Linked DNA regions of Homo sapiens: region 1 is linked to region 2. The links are contacts of gene promoters, found by promoter capture Hi-C in human tissues and cell types (Jung and others, 2019). All regions are on one chromosome and are shown on one strand. The core of a region is centred on a gene start or on the middle of the fragment in contact, and the rest is flanking DNA. Distances in the headings are between cores, read along the strand shown.

Evidence for each region. Contacts are between HindIII fragments. The study calls those that stand out against the background at their distance.
Region 1: a fragment that was not itself captured here is called in contact with the fragment with the promoter of INSM1 in region 2 in 4 of the 25 tissues and cell types used here (H1 embryonic stem cells, heart right ventricle, spleen and 1 more).

What each region holds. Positions count from the first base shown.
Region 1 is chr20:20,287,498-20,292,843 of GRCh38, forward strand. It overlaps CFAP61 (cilia and flagella associated protein 61), which reads left to right. Exons shown (of 27, transcript NM_015585.4): 23 at 1,112-1,439; 24 at 2,803-2,894. Among named protein-coding and RNA genes, the nearest start is that of CFAP61-AS1, 22 kb to the left of the region's middle. The HindIII fragment of the contact is 3,307 bases long and covers 1,247-4,553 here.
Region 2 is chr20:20,365,688-20,371,544 of GRCh38, forward strand. It overlaps INSM1 (INSM transcriptional repressor 1), which reads left to right and starts at 2,417. Exons shown (of 1, transcript NM_002196.3): 1 at 2,417-5,262. The coding sequence starts at 2,581. The coding sequence ends at 4,113. RefSeq lists an enhancer at 1,510-2,280. The HindIII fragment of the contact is 4,823 bases long and covers 1-4,817 here.

The DNA.
Region 1 (5,346 bases), core at 1,650-4,149, 78 kb before region 2:
ATTTATAGCCTTGTATGACTAGTGGCTACCACAGAATCAGAAAGCTCCCTGAACCATTCATGGGTGTGGGGCAGGAATACTGAAGGGGCTGGCTACCTCTTGCCCAAGGACAGCTGATGTCTATACAGAATGAAACAGTTGAGGGGGGTAAAGCAGGAATGTGATGGAAGTGGGGAGATGACCATCAGTATGGTTGGGACCCATGTCTTATGTTCATTTTTTAGCATGCTTTTAATAAAGTGGCAGACTATTTTAGGGAAAGATAAAATCAATTGAGCGTGTTTCAATTGGTCCAACAACTAAAGACAAAAACAACTAACTTGCACTGCTTCAGTGACTTTCAACATCAGTGTGGAAGACGATGTCCAGATGAGCATGAGAAAGCATTGAAATTTGAGCACAGAATGGAGAGGGCATACAAATAATTTCTAAGGAGCATGCAAAGGGGTTGGTGGCCCCTCTGCTTATGGCACCCTCACACAGTGCCTGGCATATGGTAGGTATGCCATCAGTATTTCTTGAATGACTCTGTGTCGTATGAGAGCAGGAAGCAACAAGGCAGGAACCCAGACCTAGTAGATACAGAGACTGATGAAGCATCCATCTTCTCTGGAGCATCATATAGGGACAAGCTTACTGAGTTTTAAAAGCTAGCAATGGGCAGTCTGAAAACTGAAGACTGGATGAGATCAACCCAAGAAGGAACCTGCAGAGACCCGAGTGTCAGACACAGGAAGGGGAAGAGGATGGAGGCTGCGCTAGAGCTGTTCAAAATGTAGGAGCATGAGGGGAAGGCAGGGTCTGTACAAATGTAAACCCTCTTCCGCCGAAAACCACTCACACTTTTGTGGGAGATATTTCATCACCTGGCATCCTTCTCTCCACTGGATGAGTGAATTGAGTGAATAAGAGTGACATTTGGGGATCTTAATGGGTTCTTCATGCCCAAGGCAATCTATCTCTCATACGCACACAAACAACATGATAGCAAACTTTTAGTATGTGTATTTTTGTGCCCCGAATAATAAAATGCCCTGGAGACTAGTCACACTTTTGGGAAGGTAAAATGAAGAGTGATAACTGAATATTGCTGTAATTGTTCACTTCGTAGATGTTCTTCAGCTTCTGTGAGAAGAATGTGGATTATGAAACGTTTAAAGCCCTCAATGATGCATGTCTTGTGTATGACAGTCGACTTGTGATTGATACCAACTTCCACACCAACGACATAGCCATCAGAGCTGCTGGCTCCCTCACCAAATTCTCCAATAGATACTACTCAAATGAGTGGACTCACAGCAACTTCAGTTCCAAAGAAATTGGCTTTCAGCTGGCAGCAGCTATGCTACATCTCTTTGATCCAACCCTTGAGCCTGTGACCGAGCCACCAGCTAATCTTGACCGGCTCATCCCCATGTACAAGGGAGCCAAGATTCAAGGTATACGAGTAGGCTTCCTTCTCCTTGATGAAGCCACAGATTAGGTATGGCTCAGCAGTCAGGCCAGTCCTCCAGGTTTCTCTTAGGCTTGGGGAAAAGGCTCCTCCGTACCTCAATGGGTTGCCACAGAGACAGAGAAAGGGTCTATAATTTCTGAAGCATTTATTACAAACCTGGAATTATTGTTATTACGGTTCTTTGCATTTGAGCATTTACTATGGACCACATCCTAAATGGGGTTCCCACTTTACAGATAAGAAAACAGACAAGGGAATGATTATTAACTTGTCTGGATGTCTCACAGCTGGAAAATGATGGTTTGCCCTGACATCTTACCCAAAACTTCCATTCTCTCTGTAAGTTCAGAGATAAGGAGACCCTTCCAGGCAGCCAGGCCTCAGCCTGCTCTGGGGATGGATAAGCTTAACCATTTGCAGCTGTAAAGCAGTGCACTTTTATCCCATAAACCCTTCTGACCCCTAAGGAGGAGATGATTTCATGAGTAATGCAGGGTTCCTTCACGTTTAGGGTATGAGAAATACCTTTGAAAATGGTGTTTCTGAATGTTGTGGACCTTTTACCAGAAAAATGCACATATTTACAAAATTACGTGTTCCCTTCCTGGAGGTTTATAGATGAACCCACAAAGCTGTACATAGACCCCCAGGGTGTCCATGAAGCCCAGTCCAGTCAATGGAATGTCAGATTACAGAGACGAAAGCCCCACATTCCATCCTTGTCTTCCTCTTCCTAACTAGGCAGCCCCACAAGGTCTTGCTCTGCTTCTCACTCTGGGTGAGACCTGAGGAAAGGTGGTGGCCGTAGGCAGGCAAGAGAAGGGAGGGCTGTCAGAAGCCAGAGCTGGCACAGGCCCAGACCTCAGGAACAAACCAAAATATTAAGAATTCGATAATGACAGTTTCTAAAACATTGAACAAAGAACTTTGTTGATAGTCCTAATTAAATTCAATTTTTTAATATTTTGGCTACATTTTGGAGAAGTGATGAGGAATAGGAATGCTGTTTGCAACATTTAAGGCTTCTAAAGGTCTTGATCTGGTTTTGGCAGATACAGGTTAAAGGGCGGGGAGCTCCGGATAATCACAGGATACACAAGATCGGCTTGGCACATCCTGGAGCAATGGCGGCTACATTATGGGATATCATATCACATTCACATCAATTTGGTTAAATAAACGTCAACCACCCCAGGGAGTTCCTTGTTGTTAGTGGTACTTTAGTGTGAAAGTTTGAGGAGCATACGCCACTGCAGGCATCTGTTTGTCCTGTGATGAAAATATGAGCTCTGTTACTCACCTCATTAACAATTAATTTTAAATGGAAAACTTGCCATCTCTTCTAGGGGGCATTCTTCCTGGGTCTTACCATTATCTGCATATTGCCAAGCCTGCCATTCCAACTCCCTTGGAGGTACAAATGGCACAGCCTAATTATGTAAGTATTATTTCTGAATTTCATTTTACTTTCAAATACAAAACTTTGTTTATAAGAGGATGAAATTCTTTACTTGGAGTCTTTACTGTAATGTGTTGGTTCACACATCAGAAGCCCACTGGAGTAATCGTCCCCCAAGATGGCCCTTAGTGACTCTCGCACCTTGGTCTTCATGCCCTTGTGTGGCTCCTCCCACACTGAGTAGGGCTGACCTGTGTAGCCAACAGGATATTGGGGAAATGACTGTGTGACTTCCAAGGTCAGGTCAGGTCAAGAAAGATACGACAGCTTCCAGCTTGCACACTTCTAGATGACTTGCTGCCATGCTGTAGGGACGCCTTTAGAGAGGTCCATGTGGCAAGGAATTGAGGACTCCTGCACCAGTCATGATCAGTTTGCCAGGCAGACGAGTGTGCCACCTTGAAGTGGATCCTGCAGCCTCCTTCATGCCTTCAGGTGACTGCAGCCCCAGCCAACATCTTGACTGAAAACTTATGAAAGGCCTTGAGCCAGAACTCCCTAGCTAAGCCATTTTCAGCTTCTGACTCCCAGAGACCGTGAGATAATAAAAATTTATTATTGTTTTATGCCATTACTTTTTTCAATAGACTTTATTTTTTAGAGCTGTTTTGGTTTCATAACAAAATTGAGCAGAGGTACAAAGATTTCCCATGTAACCCCAACCCTTCAAAAGACATATAGCCTCCCCCACTATCAACATCCCCCACCAGTGATATATTTCTTACAATTAATAAACCTACACTGACACATTATTATCAACTAAAGCCCATAGTTGACATTAGCGTTCATTCTTGGTTGTGTACATTCTGTGGGTTTGGACAAATGTATAATGACACATATCCACCATTACAGGATTATACAGAGCAGCTTCACTGCCCTAAGAACCCTCTGTGCACTGCCTGTTTGTCCCTCCCTCTGTCCTAAGGCCTAGCAACTACTGATCTTCATACTGTCTCAGTCACTTTGCCTTTTCCAGAATGTGATATAGTTGCAGTCATACAGCCTATCGTCTTTTCAGGTTGGCTTCTTTCACTTAGTAATATCCATTTAAGCTTCCTCTATATCTCTTCATGGCTTGATAGCTCATTTCTTTTTGGCACTGAATGATCCTCTATTGTCTGGTTGTATCGGTTTATTTATCCATTCACCTACTGAAGGACATTAAGCCTCTACATTTTGAGGCAACCTGTGATGCATCGATAGATAACTGAAATATCCACTTTCATGTCAATGGAGCAAGTAGATTGCTTAGCATCTGGAATGGCCATGGAGACCCCACTGTTTTCCTCCCCTCCAGGAAAAGCAGAAGCTGTGCAGTTGGGAATTCTGCTGTTTAAAGGACACAGGTGGTTGGTCAGTTGAAGAGCTCCTCTAATAAGATTCTCTGACCCATAGTCCCAGCCCGGTGTGTGTTGTCATCTGGGGGCTTCCTTTTGGATATGTCACGTTTGATTTTTAATCAATGAGGCAGATTGGAAGCTGTCTACTTAACTTCCATTCCCATTTTCTTCTCTTGAATATTTTTGAGGGTAAACAATATGACCAACCTAAAATAAACACATTTCCCAGATTTCCTCAAGGACAGGGTCAGCCATGTGGCAGGTTCTGGCCAATGAGATGTAAGCAGAAGCTCTTGGAAAAATCCTTAAATGGGGGCCTACTCAAATGGCACAGGCTATGGGTTCTTCACCCTTCAGGAAATCTCAATCCTATTCCATTTCCTTCCCATGGACCTTGAACAAGTTCTTCAGCATCTGCATTTCTGGGATTGCTGGGGAGCATACATAAAGTAACATTGTCAGGAACAAAACAGGTAGCCAGTAAGTGGTGAAGATGGCTGTTTTAATCATTATTCCAGATAAATAATGAAACCCAGTTCTTCCAGGAAAAGGGTAGATGCTGTATGTTTAAAACTTATTTCCCTTAGCCCTTTCCCAGATTCTTTTAGTTGCCCTGTACACATGATCTGATGCAACATTTTCTTATAATAAAGGAAACCATAAGATCATCATAGTGTTCCAGTTTCTATTGCTGTATAAAAAACACCTAGTGGCATAAAACAGCCATTTGATCCTGCTTACAGATCCTGTGAGTCAGGAATTTGGACAGGGCACAGTGGGCACAGATTGTCTCTGCTCCACACTATTCACAGCCTTAGATGGGAAGACTAGAGGGTTAGATCAATGGTCCAGATCATCTGAAGGCTTGTTTACTAAATCCGAAAGCTTGTTACTCAGCTGGGCTGGGATGACTCAAGGACCGGAAGTGTTCACCACAGCCTCCCCACCTGGGCTGTCCTCAAGTGCCTGGGCTTCCTCACAGTATGGTGGCCTCAGAGTAGCCAGACTGCTCACGCAGTGGCTCTGGGCTCCAAGTGCAAGTGTTGTTACTAGCAAGCTGGAAGCTGCGTTGCCTTTTATGACCCACCCTC
Region 2 (5,857 bases), core at 1,167-3,666:
TTCCCTTGGCTAAATTCAGAGCCCTGTTTGAATTCACTCACGCAGGAGTTGTTTTGTTTTTTTTGTTGGTAGAGGTGCCGGTTTCCCATCCCCACGGCTTATTTACAATTATGGGTGTTGTTATTTTTAAAGGATTCACAAGGTGACTAACTCTCTGTTATCTGTTGAATGGAAGGAGTGTTACATATGCAAGACCGAATGGGGCAGGCCGAGCCCCCGCCCTATGCTATTCTACAATCCAGATGGGATTCGTGATTAGAAAATAAAATTGGCCAAAGCTGTCTCGGAATCCTTTTCCCACTTCTAATTTCATCAGCACTATTAATCAGAGCTCAAAAGAGCAAGGAAATAACATCAGTTACTTTTAGATAGAAATATGTTTATAAATTTTAGATAAACTCATTTTAAGATTTCTAACTTTTGGGGAGACTAGCACTCACCACAGCATTTTTAAAACTAGGGTGAGACTTTTCAAAATATATTTCACTATATGCATTCTTCCCTTTTCAGTGTGTGAGTTAAAATATTACAAACATAAAATTATCAAATATCTTTCCCTTGATTAACCAACCTGATTAACCCCTTAATTAATTAAGCCTAACAACTGTCCCCATCACAACTTATGACTCATGTGGACTCTATTTTTACATGTTTAATTTCTACGCCAGGGTATTTTCAGAGGGAAAATCCAAAACAATTAAATACCTTCAGTGGAATTAAGCGTAAGTAAAACTCAGCAAAATCTGTCTGGTATACAAAGCTTTGCAGAAAAATGTTTCCTTCTCTTTCAATAAAGTGACATTTTCCTCACAGCATATGACATTTTATGTGGCTTGGCTATTTGTTCCCCAGTGTTGGACGATCAGGGCCACTACGCACTCGTGGGGTTCTCTGCCCTGTCCCCCGAAGATTCTGCCTTTTGTGTTTCCTCGGGGCTGGGCTGGACAGAGGATGGAGGCAGGCGGCCCAGTCTGGGTCCAAACGGAACGGCAGCGGAGGTGGGGGTGGGGGTGGGGGCGGGGGGAATCTTCGCTGTTGTCTCTTCCTGGTGGCACAGGGGAGGCGGCTTGTCCTCTCGGAGGCCTCAGCCTGCCTCAGAGTACAGATTGCCCCCCCTCCCCCCGTCCAGCACGCGTCTCTTTTGCGTCCAGATTGGCCGCGACCGGAGCTCAATAGCAGGAGGTTAATTTCCTTCACAAAGGTGAAGGGGGCACGGCTCCGTGGGGGCTGCGCCCAGACAGGCAGCCCCTTTATTTCGCAGCGCCTTGATTGGAGCCCTTGATTTAGCATCTGATGTCAACCGGCAAACAAAATGCCCGCTCGGAATGAAAATGCATGAGGCCGCGCGGGGAGGAGAAAGCCAACTTCACTGGGGCGCACGAGGCCGACCGCGCGTTTCGGGCTTCGGCCAACTCGACCCGGATTAACCGAGCCTTGGACCACGCGGAAGCTCCGGGCGGCCTGGGTCGGGCCCCGCCAAAGATGCCATTCCCAAGCCTCCAAGAACCCAAAAGTTCAGAAATTCACGTTCCTCTGGGAACCCAGCCCAGCCCGCCCGCGCTCCAATCCCGCGCTTTCGGGAGACTGAGAAGGCCGTGCCAATTCCTTCTCAAACTCGAAAGAAACCTTCTCTAGCCCCGTGGGCGCGCGGAGGCTGCGAGCACAAACATCGCCCTCGGCCACTGCCAGAAGGCCGGGCCCCCTGTCCACACTTGGAACCCCGGGGAACCCTTTTGCTTGGCCTCTTGGGTCCAGCGGCCCATCCGTCCAAGGTCCGGGCGGAGGCCGTCCGGACCCTGCTGCTCTCTCGGATTCTTGTTTATTTCCCAAACACCACGCGGAGCCACTGCGCCTCCGCAACGATCTCCCCCGCACCGCCCCGGCGCGCCCCCGCCCCCACCCAATCAGCGCGCACAACTTCCCCCTCGGCTCCGGCTCGCGGATTGAACCCTCCTGACATATTTGGGGCCATTCTTCTCCTTTGTTGCTATTTTGCTAGCGACCCGCGGGTAATCCCCGCGCGGGAGGGGGGCGTGCATTGTCGCGCTGATGGACGGGCCCATTTGGCGGCTCCGCGCCCCCCGGAGGAGAGACACAAAGCCCAGGCACGTGCGCCTCCCCATAGAGAAGCAGCAGACCGTGAAGGGAGGCGGGGCCGGGCGTGTGCCTGGACCGGGCGGGGCGGCGGCGCCGGGCGGGGCGACCAGGGGCGCGCGCGGGGGCCCCGCGCCCTCAGGTACATCTGCCGCACCTACCGGGCGACCCCCGAGTCCCGGCCCCCTTTTGGCCGCCCCATCGCCCTCCCACCCTGCCAGGCTGAGGAGCTGCGGACGCGCTGATTGGCTCCAGGGGAAGCGGGAGGCGAGAACAATGGCCCCCTCCCCCCGTTAAAAGGGAGCGGCTGCCGGGCCCGGGGACAGGGACGCGCGTGCAGGGCGCAGAGCTGGGCCGAGCCGTCGCCGGCGCCACGCGAGTCCCGCAGCCGCCGCGCCCGGGCAATGGGCCGGGGGCACTGAGGGCCGCCGGGGCCGAGCGCGGAGGGGGGACCGAGCCAGTGCCGTGCCCTCGGGCCGCGCCAACATGCCCCGCGGCTTCCTGGTGAAGCGCAGCAAGAAGTCCACGCCCGTTTCCTACCGGGTCCGCGGCGGCGAGGACGGCGACCGCGCACTGCTGCTCTCGCCCAGCTGCGGGGGCGCCCGCGCCGAGCCCCCGGCGCCGAGCCCGGTCCCCGGGCCGCTGCCGCCGCCGCCGCCCGCGGAGCGCGCCCATGCAGCGCTCGCCGCCGCGCTTGCCTGCGCGCCTGGGCCGCAGCCACCCCCGCAGGGCCCGCGGGCCGCGCACTTCGGCAACCCCGAGGCTGCGCACCCCGCGCCGCTCTACAGTCCCACGCGGCCCGTGAGCCGCGAGCACGAGAAGCACAAGTACTTCGAACGCAGCTTCAACCTGGGCTCGCCGGTCTCGGCCGAGTCCTTCCCCACGCCCGCCGCGCTGCTCGGAGGGGGCGGCGGCGGCGGCGCGAGCGGAGCTGGCGGAGGCGGCACCTGCGGCGGCGACCCGCTGCTCTTCGCGCCCGCCGAGCTCAAGATGGGCACGGCGTTCTCGGCTGGCGCCGAGGCGGCCCGCGGCCCGGGCCCCGGCCCCCCACTGCCCCCTGCCGCCGCCCTGCGGCCCCCGGGAAAGCGGCCCCCGCCCCCTACCGCCGCGGAGCCGCCCGCCAAGGCAGTCAAGGCCCCGGGCGCCAAGAAGCCCAAGGCCATCCGCAAGCTGCACTTCGAGGACGAGGTGACCACGTCGCCCGTGCTGGGGCTCAAGATCAAGGAGGGCCCGGTGGAGGCGCCGCGGGGCCGCGCGGGGGGCGCGGCGCGGCCGCTGGGCGAGTTCATCTGCCAGCTGTGCAAGGAGGAGTACGCCGACCCGTTCGCGCTGGCGCAGCACAAATGCTCGCGCATCGTGCGTGTGGAGTACCGCTGTCCCGAGTGCGCCAAGGTCTTCAGCTGCCCGGCCAACCTGGCCTCGCACCGCCGCTGGCACAAACCGCGGCCCGCGCCCGCCGCCGCCCGCGCGCCGGAGCCAGAAGCAGCAGCCAGGGCTGAGGCGCGGGAGGCACCCGGCGGCGGCAGCGACCGGGACACGCCGAGCCCCGGCGGCGTGTCCGAGTCGGGCTCCGAGGACGGGCTCTACGAGTGCCATCACTGCGCCAAGAAGTTCCGCCGCCAGGCCTACCTACGCAAGCACCTGCTGGCGCACCACCAGGCGCTGCAGGCCAAGGGCGCGCCGCTAGCGCCCCCGGCCGAGGACCTACTGGCCTTGTACCCCGGGCCCGACGAGAAGGCGCCCCAGGAGGCGGCCGGCGACGGCGAGGGGGCCGGCGTGCTGGGCCTGAGTGCGTCCGCCGAGTGCCACCTGTGCCCAGTGTGCGGAGAGTCGTTCGCCAGCAAGGGCGCTCAGGAGCGCCACCTGCGCCTGCTGCACGCCGCCCAGGTGTTCCCCTGCAAGTACTGCCCGGCCACCTTCTACAGCTCGCCCGGCCTTACGCGGCACATCAACAAGTGCCACCCATCCGAAAACAGACAGGTGATCCTCCTGCAGGTGCCCGTGCGCCCGGCCTGCTAGAGCGCGCCCTCCACCCCGGCCCCCGAACTGTGCCTTCGCTTGGAGACCCACAAAGAGAGTGCGCCCTGCACTCCCCGAACCCGAGTCCGCGCTGGGGGAGCCTCGCCCCCGCCCCCACCGGGTGAAAGTGTCGTCTCCGCTTCTCTCGGTGTGGCGTGACGGTAACCCCATACTCTCCTTTTGACTCCTTTTGGAACCCCCACTTTTACGTTGTGTCCCTCCGCCTCCCCCATGGCGCAACAGGAGTCAGTCTCTTTCTGTACAAGGGAGAAAAGCTGTACGCGTTTGTCTCGTGGTTGGAAGCCTCCCCTTGGCGGGGAGAAGCTTTTTTTCTTGCTAGTATTCGCTGTGTTCATGGTCTAGAAATGCGGTCTGGTCTCGCCTCGCCTACCAATCTCTGCTCTCTATGTATGTAGCGTACGGGTTGTTTTGGGTGAATCTTGAGGAATAAATGCCTTTATATTTCACAGGCTGTAAATTGAACTTCCCACACGATTAGCTTTATTATGGCTTGTGAACTGCTGGAGTCTGGCTTTACCTTTTTGTATGTGAACAAATCAAATTGCTTAAAAAAGAGTTTTCTTTAGTATAGCCACAAATGCCTTGAACTGTTGTCTGGGATTGTTTTGTGGGGGGAGGGAAGGGAGTGTTCCGAAGATGCTGTAGTAACTGCCTCAGTGTTTCACGTAAGACTTTTTGGTTTGATCATCTTTGTTGAGGTAGGACTATCAGTTCCCTCTAAATGTATATGTTGATTTATGAGTAATTGTTATTTATTCTTTATTTATTTATATTAATTATGAAGATTATGATATTATTTGATTGCAGATTTTTTTGGCGCGCTGCCCCCTCCCCACCCTGCCACTCTTGACATTCCACTGTGCGTTTTAGAAGAGAGCCTTTTTCTAAAGGGATCTGCTTAAAGTTTTAACTTTTATACCTATCTGAGTGAATTACAGACAACCTATCATTTATTCTGCTTCGAGGGTCCCCAGGGCCCTTGTACAACCGACAGCTCTTACTTTTAAATGCAATCTCTTTTCTACATACATTATTTTCTTAATTGTTAGCTATTTATAGAAAGCTTCAATAGAACTGTTTCAACTGTATAACTATTTACTATTCAAATAAAATATTTTCAAAGTCAAAGTGTGGTGGCCTGATTTCTGCATCACATGCTTTCAGGACGAATTTAAAATAGAGCTTCTGATGGTTTCTTAAAATGTAACTTTATTTTTTATTAGGAAAAAGGGAACCACCAGGATGGTGGGTTTTCAGAGCTGAACCTCAGCTGCGGAACTCTGCCCTTCTGGCAGCCTGAGGGTATAGCCTTGGTAGCGGCTGGCTGAAACAAGCCTTGTTGGGGTCCTTAGTAATGTGCCAGGAGGCGGGTTAGAATGAAGGCCCTGGGCATCTTTTCAGAGAAATCTAGATCAGTGTCCCTAAGAAGCTGTTCTTTGCACTGCACTTTCATTTAGCAAGTCCTTCATTCCCAAAAATTTGGGGCTCAGGGTGATAGTAATTCCTCAGATAAATAAAGTGGGTAGTTTTTGTTCACGACAAGAAAGGAGAAATGACTTTACCGTCAGATTTGCAAAGCACGGGCAGCAACCCGATTCACATTTGGATGCAATGGGAAGTTAAGCAACTGGGGGCAAGGGCTTAGAAATAATTTTCCAATCAGGTGAGCAGTCTGTTTGGGGGGAAAATGGAACACCATCTGTTTGGGGTATTAAATTTAATA